Regions from separate parts of the Homo sapiens genome. Here region 1 is linked to region 2. Evidence: promoter capture Hi-C in human tissues and cell types (Jung and others, 2019). All regions are on one chromosome and are shown on one strand. The core of a region is centred on a gene start or on the middle of the fragment in contact, and the rest is flanking DNA. Distances in the headings are between cores, read along the strand shown. Region 1 overlaps DNAJC15 (DnaJ heat shock protein family (Hsp40) member C15). Region 2 holds the start of SERP2 (stress associated endoplasmic reticulum protein family member 2).

The links. The method cuts DNA at HindIII sites, captures the fragments that hold promoters and counts their contacts. A contact is called where the count stands out against the background at its distance.
Region 1: a contact is called between a fragment that was not itself captured here and the fragment with the promoter of SERP2 in region 2, in 1 of the 25 tissues and cell types used here (dorsolateral prefrontal cortex).

Annotation. Positions count from the first base shown.
Region 1 is chr13:43,080,038-43,083,642 of GRCh38, forward strand. The region is part of intron 4 of DNAJC15 (DnaJ heat shock protein family (Hsp40) member C15); the gene reads left to right. Among named protein-coding and RNA genes, the nearest start is that of LINC00400, 31 kb to the right of the region's middle. The HindIII fragment of the contact is 3,912 bases long and covers 1-3,554 here.
Region 2 is chr13:44,371,994-44,375,476 of GRCh38, forward strand. SERP2 (stress associated endoplasmic reticulum protein family member 2) reads left to right here and starts at 1,831. Exons shown (of 3, transcript NM_001010897.3): 1 at 1,831-2,116. The coding sequence starts at 2,033. LOC105370297 (a long non-coding RNA gene) reads right to left here and starts at 1,573. Exons shown (of 2, transcript XR_001749858.3): 1 at 1,404-1,573; 2 at 1-1,204. The HindIII fragment of the contact is 4,304 bases long and covers 755-3,483 here.

The DNA of each region.
Region 1 (3,605 bases), core at 349-2,848, 1.3 Mb before region 2:
ATATAATATATGTGAATTTCTTTTTTTGGAAGTTTTTTTCTTTTTTAAACTTTTAGGTTCAGGGTTACACGTGCAGGTTTATTATAAAGATAAACTTGTGTCACAGGGGTTTGTTGTATAGATTATTTTGTCACCCAAGTACTAAGCCTAGTACCCAATAGTTATTTTTTCTGCTCCTCTCTTACCTCCTACCCTCCACCCTCAGGTAGGCCTCAGTGTCTGTTTTTCCCCTCTTACTATTTAGCTCCCACATGTAAGTGAGAACATGTGATATTTGGTTTTCTGTTTCTGCATTAGTTTGCTGAGGATAATGGCTTCCAGTTCATCCATGTTTCTGCAAAGCCCACGATCTCATTACTTTTTGTGGCTGCGTAGTATTCCATGGTGTTTATGTACCACATTTTCTTTATCCTGTCTACCACTGATGGGCATTTAGGTTGATTCCATATGTTTGCTGTTGTAAATATTGCCACAGTGAACATATGTCTGCAACACATGGTACTTACTAACTACTCAATAAATAGCAGCCAAGCAAAGCAGATTATTGCCCTGAGTCTGTCGCTTAGGCGCTGCCCTGTATGATCTTGGTCAAGCTTTTTTGTTTTGTTTTGTTTTTAGCTTTTCTATACTTTGGCTTCTTCATTTTTGAATTGAGAGTAATAATATTCTGCCTTGTTGGAATAATATAAGAATGATATGATGATACCTTTTTACATAATACCTACCAAATATCAGGTGCTGAAAAAAATTTGGCTCCTGTTTCTTTCCATGTCTGTCACGAACGCAGAAGCTAGATATTTGTCCTAACACATTAAGTGGAAAGGTAAATGAAACTTATCTGCTTTCCTCTAGCCCTTTCTTTTCAGTCAGGCAATGTTGATTATGACAAGATAATTTTAAGATGTGAGTATATTCATTGAATCTCAGCTGTGTAGACTATATAACAGGTAGGTGAAGGCAAAATGGAGCCGATCCTTTTGATAACCTATTTTAAAAATACTGTATGTGTTCTAGATGATACTATACATTCTGACATATTGCATATGAGAATTGTTTATTGAAATGTGTATTTGAGTCTTTGCCTTATGTTTTTCCTTGCAAGAGAATAGTGTCCTGCAATATGACTCATGTCTGTAACAAAAAGCCTGAATTATTTTACAAAGCTGCCCAGGAAAATTGTTTTTATACCTGGTATAGTAAGTCCTCACTTAATATCACCCATGGGTTCTTGTAAACTGTGACTTTAAACAAAATGACTATAATGAAACCAATTTTTTAAATCAATGAAAGGATGTTGAAGGAAATGACATTATTCAGGGACCTGCCATACATCATTTTGCTTAAAATCACAGTTTTTAAGAACCTATCAACAGTATTGTGTATTATATGAAATGATGCACATTTATGATTTTTTTTTTTGAGACAGAGTCTTGCTCTGTTGCCCAGGCTGGAGTACAGTGGCACGATCTCCCCTCACTGCAAGCTGCGCCTCCCAGGTTCACGCCATTCTCCTGCCTCAGCCTCCCAAGTAGCTGGGACTACAGGCGCCCACCACCACGCCTGGCTAATTTTTTGTATTTTTAGTAGAGACGGGGTTTCACCGTGTTAGCAGGATGGTCTCGATCTCCTGACTTTGTGATCCGCCTGCCTCAGCCTCTCAAAGTGCTGGGATTACAAGCAGAAGCCACCATGCCTGGCACATTTATGATTTTTAAGCTTTCTAAAAACTTTTGTAGAATTCTGTTTATAAACTATATTAGTCCATTCTCAAGCTGCTATGAAGAAATACCCAAGACTGGGTAATTTATAAGGAAAAAGAGGTTTAATGGACTCACAGTTCCACATAGCTGGGGAGGCCTCAATAATGGCAGAAGGCAAAGGAGGAGCAAAGGCACATCTTACATAGTGGCAGCAGGCAAGAGAGCATGTGTAGGGGAATTGCCCTTTATAAAACCATCAGATCTCATGAGACTTAGTCACTATCATGAGAACAGCACAGGAAAACCCGCCCCCATCATTCAGTTACCTCCCACCGGTTCCCCTCCCATGACATGAGGGGATTATGGGAGCTATAATTCAAGATAAGATTTGGGTGGAGACAGAGCCAAACCATATCACTATATGTTACTCAAAAGCTCAGTAGTAGAAAAAAAAAAAGATGAAACCAAAACTGCTCCATTTGCCAGAAGGTCCAAGAACACCACTCCACATACCCCCACTGCCAGCCAGATGCATTCTAGGGAGGTGTTTGAAATCTCTGGTCTAGGTACCATCATATTTAAAGTTATACTGGAGGTATATCATCATAGCTACATTTAGTTTTTATACTAAGCTTAAAAACTAGGCTTCTCTCATGTTGTTTAATCTTTACAGCAACAAACATGTATTAATATTAAAATGTATTAAGGTCCAAGAGACTTAATATAATAATAACTAAAAGGAAATAAACACTGCCAGCAAAGCAGAATAGGTCTCATTTCCAGAGCTCACCATTAGGAGTCTGATCATTATTATCTTAAAGGCAGAGTGTTTTGAATGCCATACTTGTGCATATGAACTTTCCTTCCTTGTGTTTACTTTAGTTCAGTGGTTGGTGGACCTCAGTATGCATAATGCGTTGTGGAGTTTTATGTACAAAACTATGTGGAACTGATTTTCAGAGCATTGTAATTAATTATCAAGGAAATTTTGACGGAGTAATTTTCAGATTTTGTATTATGTGCTCAACTAAAACTTAATATCTAGAATAAAATGGACCTTGCCATATATCTTCTAAAAAAATACAATGGTTCAGCAGAACATTCACCTATATATATATATATACACACATATATGTGCGTATGCGTATATGTGTGTATATATATGTGTGTGTGTGTATATATATATGAAATTTGGATTTTACTGAACTTATCTCATTATTTAGAGGGCCACATGGTGATGAAATTTATGAAATAGGTTTTTAAAGCTCCCCCTTTTTTACTTTAAAATTATTTGCATAGTAATCCTTTATAATATTAGTATTTACTAATATGGAGTATTTGTTATTTTAAGGAGTTTACCTTTTTACAGTCATTTTTGGAGGGTGATGTAAAATGCATTAAGCACTTGTACGATATATAATCCTAATTTCTTTTTTTTGTTTTTTTTTGAGACGGAGTCTTGCTCTGTCACCCAGGCTGGAGTGCAGTGGCGCTATCTTGGCTCACTGCAAGCTCCGCCTCCTGGGTTCATGCCATTTTCCTGCCTCAGCCTCCCGAGTAGCTGGGACCACAGGCGCCCGCCACCACGCCTGGCTAATTTTTTGTAGTTTTAGTAGAGACAGGGTTTCACCATGTTAGCCAGGATGGTCTCGATCTCCTGACCTTGTGATCTGCCCGCCTCAGCCTCCCAAAGTGCTGGGATTACAGGCGTGAGCTACTGCCCCCGGCCTACAATCCTAATTTCTATTTTAAGATACAAATCATAGTTTCAGCCCTAAAGTTATTTAGAATCTACCTAACACAACATGCCAAATACATACAGAACAGCTAGAAAACATAAGTAATAAAGGCAAGATGTGCCACAGAGCACCTGTGTAGCAAAAAAAGGAGTTGATAAATGTAGAT
Region 2 (3,483 bases), core at 581-3,080:
GTGAAGCATAGCAGGAAAAAGGAGTCAACAGTAAAGAAAAATTTTCCCCAAAAGGGGCTTCTCTCAGTTAAGAACACTTCTGAACTGTACTCACTGAATGTGAAGACCCAAAGAGAAAACAGTCTCTGTCTGTGTCTTTTCCTTAATGTCGCTCAGAGCCAGACCTCTACTCACCTGGTGAGGACCTGGGTCAGTCTCCTGGTATTTGGACATGATCTGAGAGGAGTGAGTCAGGTAAAGGAACCTTCTGGACCACAGACAACAGCCAGGCTCAGCAGGGATCACTGAGGTAGGAATCCCCCCACCCAAACCCCTAAAAAAGAGCCAACAGTTATTAAAAACATGGGACTAGAGTGGGGCAGACTGGGTTTATGGTCCTGTTACAACAGTGGTGATGCTAACAGTTAAAAGACCATAGAAGCTTGTTTCAAATTAATTGGCCTGTAGAGTAGGAAAAAAAAAAAATGACTCTACTAATGATCCTAGGCAATTCTGTCTTCTAGGTTACAGCAAGCAGCCCCCAGAATGGCCTTTATTGAAGCCTGAGTGACAAGAAGCCTGTAGCGGGGTGAGGGGGACCCGCTTGGAAAAAGGCCCCAAAAGAGGAGCTCTTCCTAACTCTCCAATGACATGGGAAAATTTTACTCACACAAAATTCCCTGGAAACCCAGCCACCTCCCGCTCCAAGAGAAGGCCTAGAGATGCAGTGGCCAGAGACAGCCTCAGGCCTTCTTCCCCATGCTGGGGGTGCTGCTGCTTGCCTTCACCCCGACCCGGTATCCCCACTTCCCGCTGCCCCAGATCTCCCAGGCTGAATGTCCCCTCTTCGCCTCCACTCTTCTGAGCTTCTAAGAGCTAACTCCAAGTGAGGAACTGAACCCCTTCCACCCCTACCTCCCCAGGCAATCTGTAGAGCTCTTGAGCCCTAATACCAGTGTCTGGGAGGCGCGTAAACGCTTCCATTTTTATCCTTCCACTGCAGAAAATGCCCAGTTTAGTCTGGGAGACACTCAGACCCCTCGGGACAAGGGTGGCTAGAGAGAGGTCCAAGCTGCCCTGGGTGGGTGGGGAGTCAAGGCAGGCCAAAGCTTCAGATTTAGACAGTAACCACCAAATCCGACCTGGGCTGCAGGTCCAAGGCCTCTTCCTCTTTCCTGCATGCTCCGCTCTGCCGCTGGCCCATCTTCCAATGCAACCCCTACAACTACCAAAGCAAAAAGGCCTGTCCCAACTCCATCCTCACGGCCCGATCCCCAACCCTCAGGGGATGCCGCTTCGTGTCTCCTCTTTATTTTACAACGCGGCCCTCCTTGCAGCCCTCACGAAAAGTTCTGCAGTGGGGTCCCCCAGCGTGGGGCCCTTCTCGAGACCCTTAAAGAGAAGGCTCGTTTGGTGGACCATACCCGGGCAGCGCGGGCCCGGGCCTGGACTGGTTCTACTTGTGTTCTGAGGTCCCTGACCACCGCCTTGGGTCCAGCCCTCGTCCAGGGGGCGGCGGTGCAGGGGAGACCGCGCGGCCCGGCCTGAAGCGCGGCCGCCCTCATCCCTTCCCCGGGGCTGGGGTGGGTCACCGGCCGACAAACACAGGAGGGGCCGCGTCCCCGTCCCCGACGCGCTCACAAACGCCGTGGTCGCCCGAACCTTCGGCCCCGCAGCATTCGGCTACAGGACCGCGACACTGCAGGGCCCCGGCTCTGCGCGCTGCGCTCCGGCCGCTCGGCGCGGGAGGACGTGCGGTCGCGCCTGCCTCGGTGGCCGCGCGGGGTAGGTGGCTGCGGGGACCGGAAGGATGGCGAGGAAGTCGGAAAGGGTTTCCTGAGATGAGAGATTACTTCCGTCCGGGCTGCGGCCTCTCTCTGGAGTCGGCTAGCCGGGGCTCGGGGAGCGGGGTGCGCAGGGCTCGGGGCCACGCCTTGCCACCTGCAGCGCCCGGGTGGGCCGCGGGGGCCTCGGCGGGACGCGCTCGGCCCTGTCGCAGGAGCTAACGCAGGGGGAATCCTTGCAGGTGGGAGCATTTCAGAGCGCACAAGCCATGGTGGCCAAACAGCGGATCCGGATGGCTAACGAGAAGCACAGCAAAAACATCACCCAGAGGGGGAACGTAGCCAAAACCCTGGTAAGGCGGGGTCGGCGCCGGCCAGGCAGAGCCCTGCAGCCCGGCGGGGTGGGGCGGAAGGTGGGGGCGGGGCCGGGCGGGTAGCGGCGCAGGGTCCGGCCTCCCGGCTCCCGGCCCGCCCCTTCTGCGGGGTCCTGCAGAGTGGGGGCTGAGAGCTGGGTTCAGGGCGGCGCGGTCTGCTTGGCGTCCTCGTGGGCGGAGAGGGCCCTGGTTGGTCGTGGCCCCTCTGGGAGTGGCTACCTGGGCTACCAGGGAGGCGCAGAGGAGCCCTCCTCCCCGACCCGCACCCCCTGTCCCCCTGCCCGGGAGACAGCTGGGCCTTGTCCCGGAGAAAGACGGAAAGCCTCATCCTTAGGGGCCAGTTAAGTCAACTGCATGACACAGAGCCTGGAACCTAGTATGTTCTAGAACGTTGCATGACACAGAGCCTGGAACCTAGTATGTTCTAGAACGTTTGTTGAATGAATGAATGAATCAATGGCTAAATGGAGGCCACTTGTCATCTCCTCCCGGACTCCACCTGTCTTCCCTCCCCAACAGACTTGCACCAGGATCAAGTTTTCTTTCCAGCCCCTTTGTGACGGTTTCACTGGAGGTGTGGAAAGAGCTCAAAATGGGGAGTGAGATTTGGACCCACATTCCCTCCAGCCTCTTTTTTCTCTTTTACCTCTCTTCCAGCGAGACCTCCCTCAGCCCCTAGGCTAAAGTCTAAGGGCAGCATTCCTATTCTTTCCACTTGGTGAATTCAGACTCATTCTCATGGTATAACTTTAGAGACCAGTTTATTGTCAGGCATTCGGTGTCCCTAGAACTGTAAATTCAAGCTTTGCAACTGGACTTTTAAGTAAAACCTGTGCCTTACACTCAGGAGTTTCTTTTAGCAAAGCAGATTATCATCAACAGAAAATGCGAGGCCTGTGACTTTGGACATTCAGAGGCATGAGTCGCATGGGTAGTTTGGCGAAGTTGGTCTCCAAGTATATGAGCAAAGGCGCCTGGGATCTGTTACCCCGTACAGTTAAGTGGAAATCCAGCTGAAGCCTGGAGTTTGGCTGGGAAAGCTTGCAGATTTGATGAATCAATTCCTTTTAGCCAAAGAAACTATATTGGTTTGATTAACTAAGCAAAAAGCTAGATCTGTAATCATCACACCAGAATTCTTGCAAAACCAAGCAGTATTACGGCAGAGAAACTCTAGGACCAAACTCAACTCTACTCAGAGCTTTATACACAAGTCTAAGCATAACTCAACTCTACTCAGAGCTTTATACACAAGACCTAAGTAATCCTTAAAATTCTCTCATTTAGGAATTATATCACTCAGTTGTGATTAGGCAGCAAAATGCCAAGATGCCATCAAATTGGAA